Regions from separate parts of the Homo sapiens genome. Here all the other regions are linked to region 1. The links are contacts of gene promoters, found by promoter capture Hi-C in human tissues and cell types (Jung and others, 2019). All regions are on one chromosome and are shown on one strand. Each heading gives the region's core, a stretch centred on a gene start or on the middle of the fragment in contact. The rest is flanking DNA. Distances are from core to core; before and after follow the strand shown. Region 1 holds the start of SYNDIG1 (synapse differentiation inducing 1). Region 2 overlaps SYNDIG1 (synapse differentiation inducing 1). Region 3 has its middle 52 kb from the start of SYNDIG1.

The links. The method cuts DNA at HindIII sites, captures the fragments that hold promoters and counts their contacts. A contact is called where the count stands out against the background at its distance.
Region 2: a contact is called between a fragment that was not itself captured here and the fragment with the promoter of SYNDIG1 in region 1, in 1 of the 25 tissues and cell types used here (dorsolateral prefrontal cortex).
Region 3: a contact is called between a fragment that was not itself captured here and the fragment with the promoter of SYNDIG1 in region 1, in 1 of the 25 tissues and cell types used here (liver).

Annotation. Positions count from the first base shown.
Region 1 is chr20:24,467,299-24,471,348 of GRCh38, reverse strand. It overlaps SYNDIG1 (synapse differentiation inducing 1), which reads right to left and starts at 1,720. Exons shown (of 4, transcript NM_024893.3): 1 at 1,596-1,720. The HindIII fragment of the contact is 8,441 bases long and covers 1-4,050 here.
Region 2 is chr20:24,501,749-24,505,437 of GRCh38, reverse strand. The region is part of intron 1 of SYNDIG1 (synapse differentiation inducing 1); the gene reads right to left. Among named protein-coding and RNA genes, the nearest start is that of SYNDIG1, 34 kb to the right of the region's middle. RefSeq lists enhancers at 726-1,225, 1,226-1,727. The HindIII fragment of the contact is 5,316 bases long and covers 1-3,689 here.
Region 3 is chr20:24,415,132-24,419,209 of GRCh38, reverse strand. No RefSeq gene overlaps it. Among named protein-coding and RNA genes, the nearest start is that of SYNDIG1, 52 kb to the left of the region's middle. The HindIII fragment of the contact is 4,189 bases long and covers 1-3,593 here.

The DNA.
Region 1 (4,050 bases), core at 471-2,970:
TCAGTTTCTTCCTGTCCGCGCCAGAACGGACATCAGACTGCCCCCCGCCCGCCTCCTAGCAGCTCCTTTTCACTTCGGCTGCTGCCAGGATTTCGCGACCTAGACCCCTCTTTGAAGACCACTTCCGATCCCCGACGCGGCAGCCCTTGAGGTCGCAGCCTAGCACGGAGAAGTTGGCCGGCTCTGGGGGCTATGAGGCTGCTCACCCCACAGGCGCAGGTCTACGCAGCACACACACCACCTCCTTCTTTGGACTCAGACCAAACACGCTGGGCTGTAGGAGGGAGACGGACAGATACACGGACTCGCGCGCGCACGCCTCACCAACTGATTCCAACCAGAAAACGGAGCCACTGTGTAACGCCCAGCCCCCCTCCCCTCGACACCCCCAATCAGCCAAGCCTTCGGCCGGTGTCTGCTGCACTAAACACCAGGACGTGGCCAGGGAAGGCGCAGGCATCGGTCCGAGCCAGGAGCGCCGCGGCGCCAGCGCATCTGACGTCGCAGGAGGACTGTGCGCACCTGAAGTCTGGGTGCCAAGCGCCCAAGCCTCTGCGTGCAACGAAACCCCCAAAGGAAAACAGGACTACCAGAAGACCCCTTCCTCTCGTCTTTCAGAAACGCCAAGCGGCCCCTCTGGCCGCCTCCTCAAAGCTCGGCTGCCAGAGCCACTCTAGTAGGGTCTTGCAAAAAGCGCATAGGGACAAAGCCCCTTCCCTAAGAAAAGTGCCCAACTCATCCAGTGAGCCATTCCTTCCTCCTCACTGCCCAGAGAGTGCACATGAAGAGGCAGAAATCACGACTAGGAAAAAGCGAGATTCAAATTGGAACCAAAAAAGCGTATGTGCTCGCTCCCATCTCGGCGCCAGGGCTGTGGCTCCCAGGGCTGCAGGCTGTCGCGGCTGCCAGGGGCCAGACAGCTTTTGAAGGCAGGTCTTGTCCTGGCTAGAGGAAAGAGGCTCCAGGAGTCTCTGCTTCCGCCACGGTCGCCCGTCGGGATTCCCCATCCCAAGCGCGCTTGCACCTTGCCTGCCGCTCCGCTCGGAGAATTAGTCTGTTTCCCTTCCTACTCCCAAACAGACCTAGGTCCCCAGCTCCGTGGCCGCCCGGCTCACCAGCCCTGGCTGGTCTCCTTCGGGTCACTCCGAGGGGCAGCCCGAACCCGCAGAGCCTTGGCCCGCCGCGCGCCCTCATGGCCCTGCTGGGCAGCCTGGCTCCGCTACGCTCTCAGTTCTCGGTCTCACCAGCTCCCATCGAATTCGCACAGCAGCCCCTTCGCGTCTCCCGGGGTGGCAAGGCACCAAGGTGCAGCCCAGGCCAGCATCGACCCCTTCCTGGGCATTTTCTCTGCCGGCTCAGCTCCCCCTCCCGCCCTGCGACCCCGTGTCTCCCAAGTCTCGTCGCGGCGACCACCCGGACTTACCGCGGGCGCCACGCCGCCGCCGGGTCTGCGCGCTCCGAGGCGGAGCCAGGACTAGGACACCCGCCAGCGCAGGGCAGCCTCCAGCTCCCGCCGCCAGCTCGCGGCCCCTGCCGCGACCCCGCCCACTGCGGGCCCCTCCGCCCGCCCCCGCGGCCGGGAGGTCTGGACTTACCTCCGGGACAAGGTGACCCGGCAAGTGCGCCCAAGCGGCCGCCCGCGACTCTCCCGAGCGAGCGAGCGTGCGGGGCGGTGCGGCGCCCGCCTCTGCTCCTCCGCTGCCAGGCTCTCTCCTCCTCTGCCCTCCCCTCAGCGCCGCTCTGCTCCCCACGCCTCTCCCCGCCCTGCGCTCTCCGCCTGCGCCCCCGGCTGCCCCGAGCGCCGGGCGCGGGGCAGCGGCGGCAGCCCGAGCGGCGGGGAGTCGGGAGCTGCGGCGCCGGGGCGGAGCCCAACCCTCTCGGCCCCCGGGAGAGGAAGGGGTGCGGGGAGACTCTCGTCGCGCTCGCCTGGCCGGCAGGCTGGGCGAGGGGCGCCCTGGGGCGAGCCGCTCCTCTTCGCTTGCCGAGCCTGCCGACGCGCGTGCTGGAGGCAGCGGGCGCGGGCCCCGGGGGAGGAGGGCAGGGAAGAGAAGGAGGGCGCAGCCCGCGCGAAGGTGGCCACCAACTTTGGCCCAGACCAGGGAGGCCCTAGCGGGGGATCGCGTCCAGATGGTGGCCCGCGGCCAGTGTCTGACAATGTGAGGGCCACAGAGGCTGGGGGCGGGGGATAGCTGCGGGGGACTAGGAGGACAGGAATTTGCTGCCCGACTAGAGGAAGGGATGGCTCCCCTCGGTCCTAAAGGCCTCCCCAGGCTGCGGTTCGGTTTTGAGGTTAAAAATGACCCAATTTATGGATCCGGCGAATGTTCAAGTCCTGACCAGCTAAGCCCTGGAGGAGCAAGCGGGCGCGGAGTTCAGACTCCAGAGACCCCCTCAGCCCTGAGCCAGCCTGTTGTTGGCCCATGGCGGGCCCGCCCCAGTTGGAATTGGAAGGAAACTAGGGCGGTGGTAAGACAGTCTGCGTTCTAGGAGCGGAGGAGGTGGTGTTTGCAGTGTAGATTTCATAGAGAATCAACTCTGAAAAAAAGATTTACCAGAAAGGGGGTCAAAAGTTATTTAGAAAAGCATCTGTGCGCCCCCGTTTCAACACTAGGCAGAGGCCCCAGTCCTGCCACCCGCAGGCTGGTACACTGGTGGTCAGAGAAGGTTAAGCTCCAGAGTTCCATGGCTCCCAACCTTCCTAGAGCCCTCCCTCCTGCCTGGTAACCCACCATTGCGCTGCGTCTTGCCCAGGTGTCCTGGTGGGCAGGGGCAGGAGTTAAAGGTGGTGCCAGGAACAAGAGGTCCTTCCTATATTCCTTTCAGGGGACGTGGCTTCTAGGGAGCCTCCGCAGCCCAAAGAGAATGCTGAAATGCAGAGTGCCAGAAGGAGGCATTTGAAGGAGGCGCGGATGAGTGGAACCAGTACTATCACCTGAATTCCATCCCCGTCTTCATGTCTGCAGCCCCGCGAGACACACCTGATGTTTCTTCCTTTAGGTCCCCAGAGCTGCAAGGCTGTGGTCTGGAACACTCAGAAACGGGCACTGTTCATTTCTCCCATCTAGCAGAACTTCTCAACTTGGAAGAACATGCCACCACACTTTAATAAAGCAGCTTACCTTTCCGGAGTCCTTTCCTGAATAAAGCAGTTTCCCATCTAAGCCATTAGGTTGAGCAGATACTATTAGACCCATTTGAGGTGGAGAGTCATTGATCCCATTTATCAAATGAAGAAATTGAAGTTTAAAAAGGGTAATTGAGATTGTGTAGCCACCCAATGTGCAGGAGTAGCCTGAAGCTCGGGTTCCCTGCCTCTAAGTCACTGCTCTTTCACTTGCCCAGCCTCTGGATTGACTTTTGAGGCAGATTTTGTTTTGACGAGAGAACACCTGCCTGGGCTGCAGCCAGGACTCGCCTTTGTCTCCTGGGTGCTGTTTGAATTTAATCGCGCCACTGCATTCCAGCCTGGGCGACAGAGTGAGACTCCGTCTCAAAAAAAAAAAAAAAAAAGAAAGAAACAGAAGGTGGACTCTTCCCCCATGACACACACACACACACACACACACACACACACACATCTTTCTGTAATTCAAAGGGGCCTTACACTTCATTTCAAAAGAAACTCACAGGGCCAGGACGTGTATGTAAAGAAACAGATGTCACCCACTCCTGGCAGATGCAGCAGCTCATTAAGGGCTCCTGGTGGGAAGCTCAGTTGCCCAGCACACGATGGGCAGTTTCTCTTACCTGTGATTCCCTTGTTGTGGCTTGAAATATTATCTGGTATGCTGTGATATAGCATTGAAATAAAGACTTTCAAGAAAGTCAGTGAGGAGCTGTCACATATTAGGCAATGGGGCACAGTAGAAATTGCCAAGTCTCTTGGAAACTGGGGTAACCTTCTCAACAATGCTTATCTCTCAGAGGATGTTACAGAACTTTCAGAGCTAAGAGAGGTCTGTGGGCCACCTCCTGTGCTGGGAAGAACTGTCACTCAGGCACCGAGCAAGCTGCCACACCTTCCAGCCAACATTTTTTTTTAACTTTCAA
Region 2 (3,689 bases), core at 269-2,768, 34 kb before region 1:
ATGTAGGAGCCACTCTGAGCCCCCCTCTTCCCCGCTGAGGGGGTCCTAAACGCCAGTGAGTCCAGAGGATGACCGCCTCTGCCCACCAGGCCTGACCTCAGACAAATATGACACCCTGGGCATCTTCCTTCTCCTTGAGAGAATTTCCCCAGGGCTCCCCTGGCTGCGCACCCTTGGCTGGTTTTCCTGCTTCCCAATGACTTCTCAATGACTCTTTGCCAGGTCCTCTCTTCAGCCTTTTCCAGCTCATCTCCCTGTAGCCCGCGGTGCCACCTACCTACCCTGTGCCGATGACCACTCAGCTAGCAAGCTGGACACGCACAGACCCTCTGCTGGCTCCTCACCCACCACGTCTGTGAACAGCCCTGCCGCGGCTCACCTGGCCTTGCCCCACACCTGGGATCTGTTCACCACCTCCTCCATGAAAATCAAAGCATCAACAAGTCCTACTGATTCTTCCCCCTTGTCACCCTGGACCAAGCTACCATCCTCTCACCCAGGCCACTTCAACGATTTCCTAGTTGCTTCCCCACATCCTTACTGGGCTATTGCAGCAGTCACAGGGTCTTTCAGATGGGGAACTGATTCTGTGACAGCTCTGCAGGAATTCTTCAGTGACCCAGCTCCCGGGGCACAGACCAAAGGCTTTTGCGTAGCTCATGAGAGCCAGCATATGCCAACCCCCGTTTAGTCTCCGTCTCAACTCTGACATCTCCCAACTCTCTATGTTCCCTCGTGACTGGCCTTCTTTGAAGTAGAAGCTGTTCTTCATGAGCTACAGATTTTAAAGTTTGGATCCGGATTCATTCTGAAGAAAACTGAAAACTAAGAACATCCATGCTCCACCACAGGGACAATACAGCCTCAGGTCCCAGCCCCCAGGCAGCCTCCGAGCCACAGATGGAGACCTAGAGCCAGGGTGAGGGTGGCATCCAGAGAGGGCCAAGGGAGCTCAGTCGGGCTTGTTTGGGCTTGGGTTTCCTTCGCTGCATCTCTGTCCTGTCTTTCCCTGTTTTCTTTCCAGGGGTTCCTTTAAGCCTTTTTGCTACGCATAGGGTCTCTTTATTATGTGCGACTTCATTGCTCCCCGGGCTACCTATGCCACAATCTACACTGCAGTGAAACAAGCCATCAGATAGCCACACCAATGAAAGTCCGCAAAGCATAAAACTGCTCTCCTGGCTGGGCGCGGTGGCTCACACCTGTAATCCCAGCACTTTGGGAGGCCGAGGCGGGCGGATCACGAGGTCAGGAGACCAAGACTATCCTGGCTAACACGGTGAAGCCCTGTCTCTACTAAAAATACAAAAAATTAGTCGGCGTGGTGGCAGGTGCCTGTAGTCCCAGCTACTCAGGAGGCTGAGACAGGAGAATGGCGTGAGCCTGGGAGGTGGAGCTTGCAGTGAGCCAAGATCATGCCACTGTACTACAGCCTGGGCGAAAGTGTGAGACTCCGTCTCAAAAAAAAAAAAAAAAAAAAACCTGCTCTCCCTGGATCCCACGGATCTGCTTTGTAAGCAGCAATCCTCATGAAATGTCTTCAATCCAGTCATTCAACAAGTCATGCCCGAGTACGCACCCTGCAGTAGGCGCTGGGGGTGGCAGGGAAGCAGCCAGAAGAAGCCTGTGTTCTTGTGAAGCTCACACTTGACCTAAAGATGAGAGGCAGATCATGAGCTCAATGAGTGAGTTCTGCAGATAAGAGCTGTAGGAAAGTTAGCACAGGGTCAGGGGGATTGGAGTGCCAGGGGGCTGAGATCATGAGCTCAATAAATGAGTTCTGCAGATAAGAGCAGTGGAAAGCTAGCAAAGGGTCAGAGGGACTGGAGCGCTGGGGGGCTGGGGAGGCATTCCCATTGGGGGATTTTGGGGGTGACGCTCATTGCTTCTATGAGAACTCTGCATCCCGTATCAGAGCAAAAGTAGACGAGCTTCTCCTGAGCCCCTGGTCTATTTTTACCGCGTGGACACTGTGAGTCATGCTGCTGATTGTGTCTCCCTCTCAGCACTGCTGCTGAGCACACAGCCAGCTCTAGACACCAAAATATATTTGAGGTGCTCACCTCCCTCTTGGTGTGATCTCATTTTTCCTGATCTTTTTCCTCCACCTTGTTAGGATCATCTGTGCATTTAGTTAGCTGGTTATATTGCCACCTGTCCGCCCTGCCTTGCGTGATAAGTACCGTGCAGAAGGAACGCATCCCCAGCTATATTTCCAGGCATTACAAGCCGCCTTCTGGCAGGGGACGCCTGCCTTCCCCCACAGTCCTCAGGAAGGAGCAACAGAGAAGAAGGAATGAGAAGAATGAGGGCACAGTCTGCTTCCCAAGCTCAGCTGAAGACCACAAAGCTTCTGAGACCCTGACCATGAATCTGTCCATTCACGCATCCCAGATAAAGGGCCCTTGAAACTTGGAAGTGTGATGGGCTTCATGCTATGACATCTTGAATGATCACTGAACATAATTGTGCCAAAGTTCGTATCTACTTAATTTCCCAGAGTTTAAAGCAGAATTAACATAAATGCAAAGACAAAACTCCCACGTCAGCGCTCTGCTTTCCAGACACGTCAGCAGGCACTGTATGAATCAGTACTGTCACTCTTCTCTTCTTCAGTGACCTTTGTATTTTATTTCCTTTAACAGAGAGGACAGCCCCAAGGCCTTCACACCATCCTAACCAGAAGCCAAATGGCAATGCACTTGGAGGATGTGCATTTGATCCAGAAAAGCAAATTAGCATGTTCTTAACAAAGATTTGAATGGGACATCCATGGAATGACACTAACTCTTAAAAATCACTAAAATAGCTTGCTTAAAAGTCACTGAAATAGCTGCCAGGGTCAAATAAATGATTGTTTCAAAGTCATTCTTTCCCAGAACTCTGCAGGGAAGATTCAAGGGTGAGGATTCTGAGAGATTCTGTCTCCCTGACATTCATTCCTGTCTGTGCCCGGGGTATGATTCATCCTGGAGAGGCCAGGACGATGCTCTGTGAATCAGAGCAGCACTGATGCACAGGCAGAGATGCTTCCCAAGAGACACTGCCTCCCACGTGACACTCCAAGCCCTGCTCGCCACTTGTCCTGGACAGGATTCACTTAGTGATGGGGAGAAAGCAGATGACGCAGAACAGGCCTGCTGCTTCCACAAGGCTATGACTCCTGCATCCAGGATGATGCCCAAGACCTCCCAGAAGCTGGCCCTGCGACGAGGATCTGAGTGCACTTGGGAGGTGGTTCCAGAAAGCACTGGGTAGGGGCAAGAAAGGTAGGGAACAGAAAGAAGGTGAGGGGTATGTGTGGTTAAGCCAGTTGCTGCTGCCAGTGGCTGGGGCTCAGCCCTGTGGGAACGTCTAGGGGACTGTATAGGACATTCACTCACAGCTATCAGGACAGGGGCATCTTCCCAGCAACGTCCTGCCCGCCACTGGCCAAGGGCTGCTCGTGGGCCATTCGTTCTCGGCCCTTAGCTTGCCCTGGCATGGGCAGAGCAGTCTCCCCTTGCTGGAAAAGAATCCCCAGGAAAAAGGCCACAGGTGTCAGCCAGAAGCAGCTCGGGGCCTGCAGAGGTGAGTGCCCAGTGGGTACACCTGGGGCACCGGCCTTACTTGCTCTGATGCATAAAACTCTCCTGGATGAGACACCACAAGTGGGTGCTTCTTTAACTCTGTAAGACAGAGTCTAGTGC
Region 3 (4,078 bases), core at 250-2,749, 52 kb after region 1:
AAGAAAAATGAGGGCAAAGCTTGATGCTCTGGCCCAGGAATTCAGGAAAAAAAGGAAGAAAACTGTTAACTGAATCCCAGATTGGGTCCTAGTTTAGGAATGCAAAGAAAAGCCAATGGTGACTCCATAAAAAATTCACTTAAATGGAGATTACAGAATTCTAATTCCCTGACAGATAGAACAATATTTTTCACTCTTGCAAAGCCTAAAACAAAGGGTTTCAGAACTTTGAAAGAATGTGCTTTCAGATAGAACAATATTTTTCACTCTTGCAAAGCCTAAAACAAAGGGTTTCAGAACTGTGAAAGAATGTGCTTTATCTGATTTGATTCTCCCCCAGCCAGGCATTATGATATTCATGTGAGTAACAGCCCAGTGGAGGCCGAGAAGGTTAAGGAGTTTCCTAAAATAACACAGTCAAAGAGGAGGTCGTGAAGGCCCAGGCCCCTGCCTCTGTGCACATTGTTTATGTCTGTTGGACAATTTTCCAGCAATACCCCATGTTGCACATGAAGGAGAGCAGATGGTATTTTTTAAGGCTAAATTTCAAGATTTTAATCTCTATAACAGGTACCATTTCTATCATATTTTTAAAATTTATTTATTAATCAGAAAATATGCTTATTGTAAAATATTTGATAAATGTTGAAAAAATATAATGAAGAAAATAAAAATCACCTATAACCCCATTCATTATTCATATAATAGATAACCAGTATTCATAGTTTGGTTTAACTCCTCCTAGTAATTGTTGGTAGAGGGAAGTTAAATCTACACTTTGCCATTGTATTTATAATAAAGTAAAGGGTTTTCAGATAGAATTGAGTAGAGGTTGGCAAAATATGGCTTGTGGGCAAATCCAGCCTACATCCTGTGGGCCTGTGTTGCCTACAAGCTAAGAATCATTTTAAATTTTTAAGTGGTTGAAAAATCAAAAGGATAACATTTCATGACATGTGAAAATTACATAAGATTCAAATCACTGTTCGTAAATAAAGTTTTATTGGAACACAGTCATGTGCATTCACTTACATATTGTCTATGGCTGGTTTTGTGCCACAGTGGTAGAATTGAGTAGTTGTGGCAGAGACTGTAGCACTCTAAAGCCTAAAATATTTACTATCGGGCCCTTTAAATAAAGTTTGTCAACATCTGGTTTAGAGCAAGCATTTTCCAATACCCTTAAATGCTTTTCAAAAATAGACAGCAAAAATTATTCTTTATATAGTTTTGTGGAATGAATTCTACTCTTCTTCTCACTCATTCTCTTGCTCTTAAAATATTATTTTTTTTACAATGGTCTTAAAAAATTCAATCCTATTTTAGGTATCAATGAACTCTCCTCTAGAAAGTGATGCTCTAATTTAGGATGGACAAGGGGCCCCAGAAGAGCTGGGTAGCAATGCAGTATCCTAGGCCTCATCTCAGAAACCAGTTGGTGGTGGGCCTGCATGCAGATGAGATATTTATGGTGAATGGAGTGAGTTTCCATTAGAAGCTGCTGGTGTGCTGCTCCTCTGCTGACCGCACACATAAATCAGCGTGGAGTGCCATTCCAGAAACACTGGACGTGAATGTCCCTGGCTCCGGAGATAAATGTGCTTGGGCTCTGATGCCTGGGACAGACAATAAAGGGCGGAAACCCTCGGAGCTCGGTTCCTGATAATTCTCAGAGCATGCCACGTATCAGAGTTTCACGCTTAGACAAAAACTCCCGCCCGCACCTGTGTCTTCAGAGTCCACATTTGCAGTCTTGCTTGCTGAATGACCACCTTCTCTGTTCATCTGACCCCCGGGGTGTTATAGAAGGCTCAACATTTCTCTCTCTGCCCCTGGGACACTTGAATTATTTTAGTGAGAGCTTGTTGCTCTAATATTTAATATGCAGAAGTGTGATTTTTCTCCTTCTGTTAATATAAAAAGGAGTTTTGAGCAACGAAGACTTTAAAACACGACCCACTCTGATGCATAACCAGCTTCTTTCCAAAGACCTAACAGTTCAAACTGGGAGATAAGGCATGGTGTGGTGAGCTGAATTCAAGTCCTAGCTGTAAGAATTTGGGCAAATTGCCTAATCTGTAATAATGATAATAATTAGCACCATATGTCTATGCATCCATCTCATTGCAATGATAAAATGAGGCATTACAGTGAAGTGTTTAAGAATCGTCCTAGGTCAGGTTCCCTGGAAGCAGAGCTTGAGTCATGATTTATGGAGGCAGAGCTCTCAGGAGAGAGCCACAGGATAGTGAGGGACACATGCCAGGGAAGGGGAGCAGCAGAGTGGAGACGTGGAATGTCAGCTTCATCCCACGTCCATGGGTGCTCCGGACTGTGAATGATCTCACAGCAGTTGCCCATCCAGAAGCAAAGGGGGATGAGCTATCAACCCCTGTGTCAGTCAGTTGTTGGCTTTGGGCCCCTCCTGGGGAGGATAACTTTCCTGAATGTCTAGAAGGGGTTCAGGTTAGCAAGGGCAACCCAGCAGGGAAGTTTGCTTACCCCACAACAGCTGGGCAGGGGTTCATGAGCCCCATAAAGGCTCCCCAACGACATCTGCTAAAACAGTCGGTGGTACAAAGGCAGGGTTTAATAACAATGAGATTAAAAATGGGAACAACAACAACAGGGAATGATTGACCCAGGAGGCTGAGATGATCGCAGATCCTAAGTTAGGGATATTAGCAAGAACGGTATTAGCAAAATTTTCCAAATGCATTTCAATTTGAGTGACCTGCTGATGAATACAAATAGCTTAAGTTACCTGTAGGTGAATAAAAATAGTCCTCTTGCATTTGTGTCATGCTTCAAAGTTGATGAAGTACTTTTAAAGCTTGTTTATTAGGACAGCAAAGCATAGCACATCATACTTTTCTTTCTTTTTTTTTTTTCCTGAGAAATGTGCACCTGAGGAAGGCTGAAGGGAAGGAACTCAAACTGGAAAGATGAATGGGTTATGATTCCCTGAGCCTCTTTCCTGGCTTCTTGGCCAGATTCTCCCCATCCTTCAAGGCCTGACTTTTGTTGCCTCACTTATAAGATCTTTCCAGTGGCCCCAGCTGAGTTTAACCATCTCGCCTGAGTCTCCGTATCGGGGGAACCAGCCCCCAATATTTCAATGGAGGTTCTTTTCTATTTTCTCTAAGTGTCGGCCAGTCTGAGAAATAAAGGGAAAGAGTACAAAAGGATAAATTTTAAAGCTGGGTGTCTGGGGGAGACATCACATGTCGGCAGGTTCCGTGATGCCCCCCAAGCCGCAAAGCCAGCAGGTTTTTATTATGGATTTCAAAAGGGAGGGAGTGTACAAATAGGGTGTGGATCACAGAGATCACATGCTTCACAATGCAATAAAATATCACAAGGCAAATGAGGGCAGAGTGAGATCACAGGACCAGGGCAAAATTAAAATTGCTAATGAAGTTTCATGTCCCACTGGGCATGCATTGTCATTGATAATATCTTATCAGGAGACAGGGTTTGAGAGCAGACAACCGGTCTGACTAAAATTTACTAGGCAGGAACTTCCTCATCCTAATAGGCCTGGGGGCGCTACGGGAAACCGGGCCTTATTTCATCCCTTATCTACAACCATGTAAGACAGACATTCCCAGAGCGGCCATTTTAGAGACCGTGCCCTAGGAATGCATTCTCTTTCTCAGGGCTGTTCCTTGCTGAGAAAAGGAATTCAGCGATATTTCTCCTATTTGCTTTTGTAAGAAAAGAAATATGACTCTGTTCCACCTGGCTCCCAGACAGTCAGACCTAATGGTTATCTCCCTTGTTCCCTGAACATCGCTGTTATCCTGTTCTTTTTCAAGGTGCCCAGATTTCATATTGTTCAAACACACATGCTTTACGAAAAATTTGTGCAGTTAACGCAATCATCACAGGGTCCTGAGGCAACATACATCCTCAGTTTATGAAGATGACGGGATTAAGAGATTAAAGTAAAGACAGGCATAGGAAATTACAAGAGTATTGATTGGGGAAGTGATAAATGTCCATGAAATCTTCATAATTTATGTTCAGAGACTGTAGTAAAGACAGGCATAAGAAATTATAAAAGTATTAATTTGGG